Regions from separate parts of the Homo sapiens genome. Here all the other regions are linked to region 3. The links are contacts of gene promoters, found by promoter capture Hi-C in human tissues and cell types (Jung and others, 2019). All regions are on one chromosome and are shown on one strand. The core of a region is centred on a gene start or on the middle of the fragment in contact, and the rest is flanking DNA. Distances in the headings are between cores, read along the strand shown. Region 1 holds the start of ZNF253 (zinc finger protein 253). Region 2 holds the start of ZNF93 (zinc finger protein 93). Region 3 overlaps PBX4 (PBX homeobox 4).

Region 1 (4,386 bases), core at 1,613-4,112, 270 kb after region 3:
TCTAGTATTTTAGCCTTAGCCTTTGATAAAATGGACTATTTCCTCCCATTCCATAGGATGCAACCAGCTCCTATCTTGACACATTAACCTATAAGCAGTAAGCAAACACCATCCACTCTGGGAGATCCCTCAGCATCTGCTTTGCTGACTGGAATCCCCTGCAGCCCTTCATGCACAGTCAAAAGTTTAAATTGCACTAATTTAGATTCCCAATTCTCACAAAGGCCAGTTCCCCTGGACCATTCAACTGCCAAGGGGGAGAAGTGGGGGATTTCCCATCTCTGGATATGGGAAGTCCACGAGCCTCTAGCCCCGTCCTTGTGGCCAAAAAGTGGCACACTTTGGTTTTCGAATCCTGTTTGTGACACCAAAAATATTCGGGTGGGAAACACATGAGGGGAGAAGGAAAGACACACACACAACACCTTTAATGGTAAACAAGTTTATTCCACGTAAGTGGCAATGCAGATATAATAAGCAAATGATATAATAAACAGATCAATATAACAAGCATATTGATATAAGAACCACATTGATATAATAAGCAAATTGCAATGGGAAGAGGAGAAAGGAAAAGATATATATATATATATATATATATATATTTACACTCACTAGAGTATGGAGGTTTCACCACCAAGGTGGTAAGCAACAGCCTGGGTTCCAGAGTCGGCCACTCATTTCTGCACAGATGAGGACAGGTCTCATGAAGCTTTGGCGCAGTCTGGTACCCTCAGTTTTTTGTAACGAGTTGTTTGGCAGGAGGTCCAGTCACGAGGGCCTTCCGCAACTGGGCACAAGGAACACAAAAAGGTCAACTTGCTTTTGTGATTGTCTATTGTTTTTCAATAACTAATGTATAGAAATAGATTGAAATAGAGATATCACTGAAACAGCTCTGAATGAACAACTCAGAAGGCTCACACAACCTGTTCCAGGACTTCGTGACAATTGTTTGTGTCCACGTTTAATTGAGTTCAAATTTAATATTTAACTTTTCCTCCACAAATTCCCCTGTCTTGATGAATCATCTCTGTCTAGGCAAAGGGCCAGGTGAACCCCTTGGGCCTTACACAACCTCCGCCTCCTGGGTTCAAGCGATTCTCCTGCCTCAGCCTCCGTGGTAGCTGGGACTACAGATGTGCACCAGCACGCCAGGCTAATTTTTTTTTTTTTTTTTTTTTTTTGAGACGGAGCCTCGCTCTATCGCCCAGGCTGGACTGCAGTGGCGCAATCTCGGCTCACTGCAAGCTCCACCTCCCGGGTTCACGCCATTCTCCTGCCTCAGCCTCCCGAGTAGCTGGGACTACAGGCGCCCGCCACCGCGCCCGCCACCGCGCCCGCCTAATTTTTTGTATTTTTAGTAGAGATGGGGTTTCACTGTGTTGGCCAGGCTGGTCTTTAACTCCTGACCTCAAGTATTCCACTCACCTTGGCTTCCCAAAGTGCTGGGATTACAGGCGTGAGCCAACGCACCTGTCCCTAAATGATTTCTTTCTATCTCCTATAACAGTTTGAAATTACTTAAAGGTTGTTTCAAACTGAAAAAATAAAAAGAATGTAGATATAAATAAAATATAGTTAAAAAATTACAGGAGATTACAAATTATATATGTAAATCTCGAGAGGTCAAAAATGACAAATTTTGTTTATTTACAAGGTTTTATTTATGTATTTATTCATTTTTGGAGACGCAGTCTCACTTTGTCACCCAGGCTTGAGTGCAGTGGTGCGATCTTGGCTCACCGCAACCTCTGCCTCCTGGGTTCAAGCCATTCTCCTGCCTCAGCCTCCTGAGTAGCTGGGACCACAGGTGCATGCCACCACGCCCGGGTAATTTTTTGTATTTTTAGTAGAGACAGAGTTTCACCGTGTTAGCCAGGATGGTCTCGATTTCCTGACCCAGTGATCTGCCCTCCTCAGCCTCCCAAAGTACTGGGATTACAGGCCTGAGCCACCGCACCTGGCTTTACAAGGTCTTATTAAAATTAGCTTTAGTATTGATAATACACTATTACCAAAGTAAAAGTTGACTTTCTCTTGAACAAACATTTCATGTATTATTAATATGACAGCAAAGTACTTCTGTTCACCTTTTGAATACATTCAAAAAGAGAGAGAATATGAGATAGAATTTTCCCATGCTCTGGGATGGGATGCTCAGCTCAGGGAGGAAGCCGTTTGAAAAGGCTCCAGCTAGGCTAGGCGCGGTGGCTCACGCTTGTAATCCCAGCACTTTGGGAGGCCGAGGCGGGCGGATCACCTGAGATCGGGAGCTCGAGACCAGCCTGACCAACACGGAGAAACCCTGTCTCTACTAAAAGTACAAAAAATTAGACGGGCGTGGTGAGGCATGCCTGTAATCCCAGCTACATGGGAGGCTGAGGTAGGAGAATCGCTTGAACCCGGGAGGTGCAGGTTGCGGTGAGCCAACATCGTGCCATTGCACTCTAGCCTGGGCAACAAGAGGGAAACTCCGTCTCGGTGGGGGGAAAAAAGAAAGAAAAGAAAGAAAGAAAGAAAGAAAGAAAAAGAAAGAAAGAAAGAAAGGAAAGAAAGAAAGAAAGAAAGAAAGAAAGAAAGAAAGAAAGAAAGAAAGAAAGAAAGAAAGAAAGAAAGAAAGAAAGAAAGAAAGAAAGAAAGAAAGAAAGAAAGAAAGAAAAGGCTGCAGCCTAGGCTGTCACTCTTTCTTCACTCAGCCCAGTATCTGATCACATCTGTCACTCAGCGGCTGGGGAGGCGGGGCCTTAGGCATTATCCAATGAGGGACGCTGGGCCGGAAACCGTCCAATCAGGCACGCAGCTGGAGCGAACCACATGGTTTCTGGGGGCCTTTGTTTCTCGCTGCAGCGGGAGCTCCAGGTTTATCCTCAGTGTTCTGTGTCCTGTGCTTATAGAGGCCCGTCCTCTGTGGCCGTGTGACCTGCAAGTATTGGGAGAGCCACAGCTAAACCCCGGGACCCCTGGAAGCCTAGAAATGGTGAGTGCCGGGTCCAACGTCCCGAGAGAGGGGAGAGGCTGTTTGGAACGGTGGGAAGTGGCTCTGGCGGGACTCTGCTTCCTCACAGTCAGCTCCACAATCTGCCGCCGGAGTTCTCCCTGCCCAGCTCGGCCTCAGTCCCCTTCAGCCATAAGATGGCGGCTGCGGTGACATCCGGGGCCCGGCACAGTGATTGTGCCCTGGCCTGGAGCCCTCTTTCAGCAGCTCTGCACCCGCAGCACCGCGTCTCTCCCAGATCATGCAAGGACCACGGGAGGGTCGTCAGGGGAGAATCCTGACTCGGTTCCCTGCGGGTTCATGAATGGGAAGAGCTTTGGTCCGTGAGGTTGTTAGAAACAAGCGCTTGGTGCCGCAAAACAACACAAAACAAAAAACTACCCAGCACTTAGAAAATTTCACAGGAAGGCATATTTACTTCTGAAGAAGAGTGCTGCTCGCGTCCGACCTGATCGCAAGAGCACACAGAAGAAAGGAAGGAAGGTTTTTTTTTTTTTTGAGGCGGAGTTTTGCTCTTGTGGCCCAGGCTAAAGTACAATGGCGCGATCTCGGCTCACTGCAACCTCCGTCTCCCGGGTTCAAGTGATTCTCCTGCCTCAGCCTCCCGAGTAGCTGGGGTTACAGGCATGCGTCACCACACCCGGCTGATTTTGTATTTTTAGTAGACATGCCGTTTCACCATGTTGGTCAGGCTGGTTTTGAACTCCCGAACTCAGTTGATCCGCCCGCCTCGGCCTCCCAGTTTGAAAGGGGTTTTTAACCCTAAACGCCGTTATTGCCTCTGTGTCCTTCCCCCATTGGCCGGGGTCTGACCTCACAATCTAGGCTGACCCGATTGGCTACTTTCCAAATAAGGAAGGGGTTCGGGTCGCAGATTGGAACAGGCGGTTTGGGTTGTTTACGGAGCGGGTGTCTAGGTACAAAGAGGTACAAAAAAGTTGGTCCTAAGAACAAGGAACAAGAAAGTTAGGCCCTTGAAGAGGAATCTATTATATCTGTCAGGGTTCACAGTTTCCCTTTTCTCCTATTAAAAATTTATGGGGCCGGGCGCGGTGGCTCACGCCTGTAATAACAACACTTCAGGAGGTCGAGGTGGATGGATCACTTGAGGTCAGGAGTTGAAGACCAGCCTGGCCAAAATGGGGAAACCCCATCTCTACTAAAAGTACAAAAATTAGCTGGGTGTGATGGCGAATGTCTGGTTTTCTGTTTCTGCATTAGTTTTCTGAAATAATGGTCTACAGCTTTATTGATGTTATTGCAAAGGACATGATCATTTATTTTTAAATGGCCAGAGAGTATTCCATGATATTTATGTACCATATTTTGTTTTTACTAAATCTTTTATTTTATTTTATTTTTGGAGACAGAGTGTCACTTATTGCCCA
Region 2 (4,298 bases), core at 1,711-4,210, 310 kb after region 3:
TAGTGCTTGCCTCATTATGCCCTGTGAAAATCTCCAGAGTCAAAAACAGCTCTCAGCCTCAGAGAAATATCTCTGTCACTTTTGGACAAGAGGCTCCCCCTAACACGACTCCTGTTCTTTAACAAATGTAAAAAAAACAGGCCTGCCACAGCTGGAATGATGTTTTATAAACAATCGAATATCAGGGCTGGACCTCATCAACAAGTGGTTGTATGTCCTTAAAGCCATATATTTGCTTTGCTAAAGGAAACACTCCTTCCAATTGCCAGTTTAACCAATGTAATCTGGTGCAAATTTCTATTCTCACCCCCACTTCTATGGATCCTAACCCCACTTTGATTTGAGCTGCTTCTATGGCATAAGACCCAACTTGGCTGGCACAAATCTCATAGGGTCTTTCAAAATGCGTCTAATCATCCCTCATGCTCTTCACTCCCCTCTCTTCTAAGCTCTTTTCTAACCAGACTGTCATATCTTCTATGCCCAGTGATAAGACTAAAATAGATATTGTAAAAGTAACTAATTTAAGGCAAACTTTAACAATTAAAACAAGATACCAAGATACAAATGCCTGGTTAAAATGGATCAAATATTCTGTGCACACATTAAGCAAAAGCAATTGTTATGCTTGTGCACGCGGCCAGCCAGAGGCCCAAATTGTCCCTTTCCCACTCAGATGGTCTTCTAGTTGACCAGGCATAAACTGTATAGTAGCTCTTTTCCAAGACCCCACAGCCTAGGGTAATAAATCCTGCTGAGCTCTCTCTCTGCTATTTCTTAAAGTCCAACACCCTGTGGGTCAGGCCCCAAGAGCCATCCAGCCTCCATCTCCTAGCGTCAATTTTACCTCGTGTCTCTCACGACAAGGGGAAAACTTGGCATTTCTTGGAGACTTAATGGGATACAGTGAGCTTAAGCCTTTCCAAGATCTTACCAGTCAGTCTTCCCTTGTTCATCTTTGAGCAAATATATGGTGGTATTGTGGTGGACCCTTACTGGACACTCTGCCAAGTAACTGGAACGGCACTTGCACTGTTGTCCAGTTGGCTATCCCTTTCACTCTGGCATTTCATCGACTAGAAAAAGAAAAACCACAACACTGTAAAATAAGAGAAGCCCCTTATGTGTCTTTTGACTTTCAAGTTTATTTAGACACAACTGGAGTCCCACGGGTGGTACCTGATGAATTCAAAGCCCAAGATCAAATAGCTGCAGGATTTAAATCAATATTTCCACGGGTAACTATTAATAAAAATGTAGATTAGATAGATAAATCACATCTATTATAATCAATATTAGTTTATTAATTACACCAGAAATGCTGTCAAAGAAATAGCCAACCAATTAAGGCCTACTAGCCAGATAACTTAGAAAAACAAAATGGCCCTGGACATAATATTAGCTGAAAAAGGTGGAGTTTGTGTTATGATTAAAACTCAAATGTTGTACCTTCATCCCAAACAATACTGCCCCCAATAGGAACATAAGAAGGGCCTTACACGAACTTACCACTTTATCCAATGAATTAGCTAAAAATTCTGGGGTCAATAACACGTTTTCAGAATGGCTAGAGAGGTGGTTCAGTAAACGAAAAAAAGTCATAGCCTCAATTCTTACTTCTCTTATAGTTGTAATAGGTGTACTAATTCTTGTTGGGTGTTGTGTCATACCATGCATCTGTGGGCTAGTACAAAGACTTATAAAAACGACACTTACGAAAACCTCCCTTAGTTCTCCTCCACCTTATTCAGATAAACTTTTCCTTTTAAAAGATCAAGTCAAACAACAAAGTAAAGGTATGTTTAAAAAGTTTTAAAAAGCGTGTGGTCGCAGTGGCTCACGCCTGTAATCCCAGCACTTTGAGAGGCTGATGCGGGCGGATCACCCGAGGTCAGAAGTTAGAGACCAGCCTGACCAATATGAAGAAGCCCCATCTATACTAAAGACACAAAATTAGCTGGTCGTGGTGGCACATGCCTGTACTCCCAGCTACTCGGGAGGCTGAGGCAGGAGAATTGCTTGAACCTGGGAGGCAAATGTTGTAGTGAGCCAAAATCGTGCCATTGCACTCCAGCCTAGGCAGCAAGAGCAAAAACTCCATCTCAAAAAAAAAGGTTTTTTTTTAATTATAAAAATTAAAAGGGGGAAATTGTAAAATACAATAAAATTCCTCTTCAAAGGTTTAGTCTTAACTTTCTTGTTCTTTGTTCTCAAACTCAACTTGCTTGTTCTCCATGCCTCCTTGCCCCTAGTTACTGTAACAACCTTCCTTCCCAACAGCTCTAATCAATAATTCACATCTGTTCCCTTGATTACTCACTCTGCAGCCTTCCCACCCTTCAAAACCACACGTCCCACCACTGTGACTTATACATGCCCCTTCCCTTCCTTATTTGGAAAAATATTTACAAATAGCCAATCGGGTCAGTTTAGATTGTGGGGTCCGACCCTAGCCCATGGGGGAGTAACACAGAGGAAGAGACTTTACGTTAAAAATAAAAACCCCTTCCCTCCTTTGTTCAGGGTGCTCTTGCGATCGTGATTAATGCAAACAAAAACCTTTTGCAGAAGTAAATTGCCTTACTAAAAAAACTTTTGCCTGAGTACTGGTTTCACTTTGCGACACCAAACACTTTACTTCCAACGGTATTATTAATATGACAACGAAATACTTCTGTTCACCTTTTCAATACATTCAAAAAGAGAGAGTAAAAAAGAGAATGTTCCCATGCTCTGGGGTGGACGTGGCTCAGCTCAGAGAGGAAGCCCTGGCTGAAAAGGCTGCAGCTTAGGCTGTTACTCTTCTTCACTCAGCCCAGCATGTGATCACATCTTCTGTCACTCAGGTCCTGAGGGGGCGGGACCTTAAGAATTATCCAATCAGGGACGCTGGGCTGGAAACGTCCAATCAGGCAAGCAGCCGGACCGAACAGGGCGGCTTCTGGTTTGGCGGGTCCTTTGTCTCTCGGTGCAGCCGGAGCTCCAGGTCTCCTCTTCACTACTCTGTGTCCTGTGCTCCTACAGGCCCAGCCTCTGTGGCCCTGTGACCTGCAGGTATTGGGAGATCCACAGCTAAGACACCAGGACCCCTGGAAGCCTAGAAATGGTGAGAGTGCCGGTCCGACATCCCAAGCGACGGGGAGGGGCTGGTTGGAACCGGTGGAAAGTGACGGTGGCGGGACTCAGGTATCCCCTTAGTCAGCTCCACAATCTGCGCCGGAGTTCTTGCCCAGCTCGGCCTCGGTTCCCTTCAGCCATAAGATGGCGGCTGCGCTTATAGCGCAGCCCCCAGGCGTCCTGTCTCTTCACTGTGCGGTGACTGTGCCCTGGCTTGGAGCCCTCGCTGGGCAGCTGCGCACCCGCAGAGCCGCTTCTCTCCCAGATTGTGCAGAGACCACGGGAGAGTCGTCAGGGGAGAATCCTGACTCGGAGTGCGGGTTCACGAATGGGAAGAGCTTTAGTGGGTTGGGTTCACAGTTTCTCTTTTCTCCTATTAAAAATTTATGGGGCTGGGCAAGGTGGCTCACTCCTGTAATCGCAGCAGTTTGGGAGGCCGAGGCGGGCGGATCACTTGAGGAGTTGTTAGGGCAGCTAAGTTCCTCTTCAGAGACTCAACTTCCTGGTCATAAGTTGTAAAAATTGTAAATCAACCCTACCCCTTCTTTTTCCCCATTCTCCTTTTCTCAAAACATCGCGCGTTTACCCTATATGGAAAAAGTTTGTGTCTAGCCCAACCAGGATCAGCTTAGATTGTGCGGTGGGACCTCAGCCAATATGGGAAGGACACAAAAACCGGAACTGCGTTAGGGTTAAATCCCCTTCCTGGCCCAGCGCGGTGGCTGATGCCTGTAATCCCAGCACTTTGTGAGGCCGTGGCGGGTGGATCACAAGGTCAGGAGTTCTAGGCCAGCCTGGCCAACATAGTGAAACCCCGTCTCTACTAAAAATACAAAAATTAGCCGGGATTGGTGGCAGGCGTCTGTAATCCCAGCTACTTGGGAGGCTGACGCACGAGAATTGCTTGAACCTGGGAGGCGAGGTGCAGTGAGCCGAGAGCTTGCCATTGTACTCCAGCCTTGGTGACAAAGTGAGACTCCGTCTTAAAAAAAAAATAGACATCTTAAAATTTCCTTCCCTTATGTAAATACTGTGTTTGAGTAATTTCACGGATTTTTCAAACACTGAGTTTCAAAAACCAAGTGAATAACTCTGACATGACAAAGCTTGAGCCTAGTGACTCCAAGCTAAGGCTAATATTAAGCCTAAAACAGAAGGTTTTTTTTTTGGACAGAGTTTTG
Region 3 (4,118 bases), core at 674-3,173:
TCTGCAAGGGGCCTCTGGGGCTCAGCACACCGCCTCGGAGCTGCCTACCCACTCGAGATCTGAGATCCGAAGCTTTTCACACAAGCTGTCACTCATGCTCATGTGGAGGTAAAGCCTGACACATTCCAACGTGCCAGGCTGTCCCTGCTCTGGTGCCAAACACCACTGTGTGAATTCAGGCCACGCCTCAGTCCTCACTGGGAACATCAATGTGACAAACCTTATTTTTTATTTTTATATTTTTTTAGAGGCAGAGTCTCACTTTGTCGCCCAAGCTGGGGTGCAGTGGTGTGATCTCAGCTCACTGCAAACCTCACATCCCAGGTTCAAGTGATTCTTCTGCCTCAGCCTCCCGTGTAGCTAGGATTATAGGCACCCGCCACCATGCCCAGCTAGTTTTTGTATTTTTAGTAGAGATGGGTGGGTGAGGGAGGTGGGGGGGTGGTTCACCATATTGGCCAGGCTGGTCTCGAACTCCTGACCTCAGGTGATCCGTCTGCCTCAGCCTCCCAAAGTGCTGGGATTATAGGCGTGAGCCACTGTACCTGGCCAACGTGACACATCTTAAATCCAACGCTTTCGAATTCTGCAACATACCTAGTCCCAGGGTCTCAGCAAAGGGACTGTGGCCCGTATCTGGTTCTCCCAGCTAAATTCAAAGCTCTGCAACTAATCAGGGTTTATTTTGTTCTCAGAACAGCTCCTCTAGACACCGAGGAGGACAGCTGTTTCTGGGAAGGAGGGTTTGGGAGGAAATGCATACGCTGAGGGTGTCCTTGGCCTTCAGAGACCACCGCAGGGCAGGAACACCCAGACACTGTGGTGTGGTGAAGCTGACCCCAGGAGACAAGCTTTGAGGGACCTGCCTGCATACCTCCGACAGGCCATTCCTGGGGTTCACCAGGGACTGCTGGCAGTGCATCCGGTGATGCCAGGTTTACATGGAGGACCACGTTCTTTTCAGGCTGCTGTGAGTGATAAGCCCTGTGTTCTAAGTCAGGCCCCCAGACACTGAATCTTCTGAACCTCATAAGGGGAACTGGATGAAAGGGATTTCAGTTAGTATGTATCAGTCACCAGAAACAGTTTTTCAATCAACAAAAACAGAAAGGCACCGGGACAGACCCTGAGAACATAGCGCATCCTAGACCCTGCGCTGGCCAGGAATGGTCATTGTTCAGATGACACAGGTGGGTGTGTGGGGCCCATGAGTGCCGGCCATGAGGGACAGGCCCTGGGTCCCTTTCATGAGTGAGGACAGTGTACGGGGTGGGGCGGCATGCAGCCTGGCTGTGGGTGACTGGTGTGCCCTGGGGAGGCCCCTGTCTCTTAGAGCTTCCCACTGCCCATCTGTAAAACGGGAGAAAAGGGTCTGCCCGAGGCTGTGCAGGGCTCTGGGGAACAACTCGAGGAAGCCCCGAGCTGCCTGCCCAGGCTCCATCAATACCCACCAGACTTAATCTTTGCCGTTGTTGTTGTTGTAGAGACAGGGTCTTACTGTGTTGCCCAGGTTGGTCTCATACTCTTGGGCTCAAGCGATTCCAAAGTACTGGGATTATAAGTGTGAGCCACCATGTCCTGCCCCACCAGGCTTTAAATGCTCTGTGGAAGTTTGGTCTTTACCATAAGGCCTGCTGCAGACTTCAGCCAGAGGGAAATGTGAGAACTGTGGGTTAAATCGAGAAGCACGCCAGGACCCCGGCTCATGGGATTGCCCTTCAAGAGGCGGCCCGTGGGTACCACAGGGTGCAGGATCAGGACCATGAACAGTTTCCTCTGGGCTGAGACTTGGCCATTCCTAGTCACGGGATGAGGACAGATGGAGCAGAATCGAAATCCTGTTTACTTTCCTGCCACTGGCTGGTTTGTCTCCGAGACTAGAAGGCTGAGGTGTTCCTGACATCAAGGCAGGTGGCCCACAGGTGGGACCCACAGCACTCACTGACTGCACTTCCTGATATAAAAAGATACCTGGACACTCCAGGTGACACTCAGGAACAGGCATCCCTCAGCTCCAGGCTTGTGCATTTCAGGGAGGAGCAGTTGCTGTCTCATCCCTGTCCTACTGTACCCCAAAACATACCCTGTACCCAGATGTTTGAGCCAGTCAGTGGGAAGAAAGCATTAGCTTCCAAGGAAATGCCCAGGTGGCCGGTGCTCTGAGCCCTGCAGCGGCCTTGGGACTCAGCTTGGAGGAATCAAAAGTCCTGAGTGGCCAGGCACAGTGGCGCCTGCCTGTAACCCCACACCTTGGGAGGCTGAGGCAGGAGGATCACTTGAGCTCAGGAGTTCAAGGCCAACCTGGGCAACATACTAAGACCTCATCCCCCCAAAAATAGTCCTCAGCGACCCCTAGACATGGTGGTGTGTGCGGAAGCTGAGGTGTGAGGATCACTTGAGCCCAGGAGTTTGAAGCCAATCTGGGCAACACAGTGAGACTCTGTGTCTTAATTAAAAAAAAAAAAAAATAAAAAATAAAAAATTAAAAATGTCGCCGGGCATGGTGGCACATGGCTGTAATCCCAGCACTTTGGGAGGCCGAGGCGGGCGGATCACCTGAGGTCAAGAGTTCAAGACCAGCCTGACCAACAGGGTGAAACCCTGTCTCTACTAAATACAAAAAATTAGCCGGGTGTGGTGGCAGATGCCTGTAATCCCAACTACTCGGGAGGCTGAGGCAGGAAAATTGCTTGAACCTGGGAGGCAGTGAGCCGAGATTGCGCCATTGCACTCCAGCCTAGGCAACAAGAGTGAAACTCTGTCTAAAAAAAAAAAAAAAAGAGTCCTGAGCATGGCCCTCAAAGCCTAGGCAGATGGGGGTAGGGAGGTGGGGCGACACCAGCGGTTGAAATGGACAGACATCTCAGCTGCACTGGCAACAGTTGGTATCAACTCTTGTTTTCCCTCCTGAAACTGCTGAATTTGAGACTAACAGACTCATGCAGTAACATCCACACAGGGGCAGATGGAATTATGAAGAGGCGTGCCCAGGCTGAACACCCACACTCTCAAAAATTGGTTTCTCGTTCAGCCCCAGCAGCTCACTGGTAGGAAGGTCAAGAATGACAGCTTCCTGAGACTACAGTTGATTAAAGTACTTTTTTTTTTTAGACAGGGTCTCACTCTGTCACCCAGGCTGGAGTGCAGTGGCGCAATGTCATCTCACTGCAACCTCTGCCTCCTGGGTTCAAGTGATACTCCTGCCTCAGCCTCCTGAGTAACTGGGATTACAGGCGCATGCCACCACGCCCAGCTAATTTTTGTATTTTTAGTAGAGACGGGGTTTCATCATGTTGGTCAGGCTGGTCTCGAACTCCTGATCTCAGGTGGTCCAACTGCCTCGGCCTCCCAAAGTGCTGGGATTACAGGCGTGAGCCACCGCACCCAGCCTTTAAAAAGTACTTTTTAAAATAGTTTTTTATTATTACTAAATTCCAGATGTTGCATTGCTAAACATCCGCTGTGGGCAGTGGGGAGCCCCCAAAGGCTGCTTCCTGGGGTCAGGGTCAGGGGTGAGCAAGGGACAACTTGGGCTGCCTGTGCCTATTGGTACACATGCCTCAGCAAGTGGTCCTGACACTGGCTTATTTTTATTAGGTGAAAAGTGAAAGGGACCAACATTACACAATTCCACAATACTAAGAAACACGTGACCACAGCCAGTGTCTCCAGGGGGTGGATACACATTGGCTGTGTCCTTCTGAGCGGCTTCCCTCAGCCTGCAGTACTTGGGGCTCATTCGGGTACAGGGCCCCCGCTTGTCCAGCTTACCACACGAATGCTGAAGCACCATCAGGGAGTGCTGCCAGGGAGTTGAGGGCAAATTTGCTTAAAACCAGTTCACCGCTAACAAGAAACTTGTGTGTCTGGTTCCCCAGGAAAGCCTAACCTTTGTGTTTCCATTTCCATGGCATCTGCTCCCCACAATTTAAATAAGGAACAGATAAGACAGGTCATCAGATATTTACATACCCATGAGAGGCATATGAGGTGGGCAGGAAGCCAGGGGCATCACAGCCCAGCATCTGGCCCCGTCGGGAGGATGACCTGGCACTGGGTGTTGGAGACCAACAGGGGGCATATCATGTGGGGGCTGTCAGCAGCAGCAGTCTGCTGGG

What was found. Contacts are between HindIII fragments. The study calls those that stand out against the background at their distance.
Region 1: a contact is called between the fragment with the promoter of ZNF253 here and a fragment that was not itself captured in region 3, in 2 of the 25 tissues and cell types used here (bladder and mesendoderm cells).
Region 2: a contact is called between the fragment with the promoter of ZNF93 here and a fragment that was not itself captured in region 3, in 2 of the 25 tissues and cell types used here (aorta and spleen).

Annotation. Positions count from the first base shown.
Region 1 is chr19:19,863,020-19,867,405 of GRCh38, forward strand. ZNF253 (zinc finger protein 253) reads left to right here and starts at 2,863. Exons shown (of 4, transcript NM_021047.3): 1 at 2,863-2,980. The coding sequence starts at 2,978. LOC124904664 (a long non-coding RNA gene) reads right to left here. Exons shown (of 4, transcript XR_007067169.1): 1 at 3,417-4,386; 2 at 616-790. RefSeq lists an enhancer at 2,894-3,323. The HindIII fragment of the contact is 7,733 bases long and covers 187-4,386 here.
Region 2 is chr19:19,897,986-19,902,283 of GRCh38, forward strand. ZNF93 (zinc finger protein 93) reads left to right here and starts at 2,961. Exons shown (of 4, transcript NM_031218.4): 1 at 2,961-3,106. The coding sequence starts at 3,104. RefSeq lists enhancers at 2,931-3,530, 3,065-3,614, 4,163-4,298. The HindIII fragment of the contact is 8,115 bases long and covers 1-4,298 here.
Region 3 is chr19:19,591,632-19,595,749 of GRCh38, forward strand. The region is part of intron 2 of PBX4 (PBX homeobox 4); the gene reads right to left. Among named protein-coding and RNA genes, the nearest start is that of PBX4, 25 kb to the right of the region's middle. RefSeq lists an enhancer at 985-1,609. The HindIII fragment of the contact is 8,394 bases long and covers 1-4,118 here.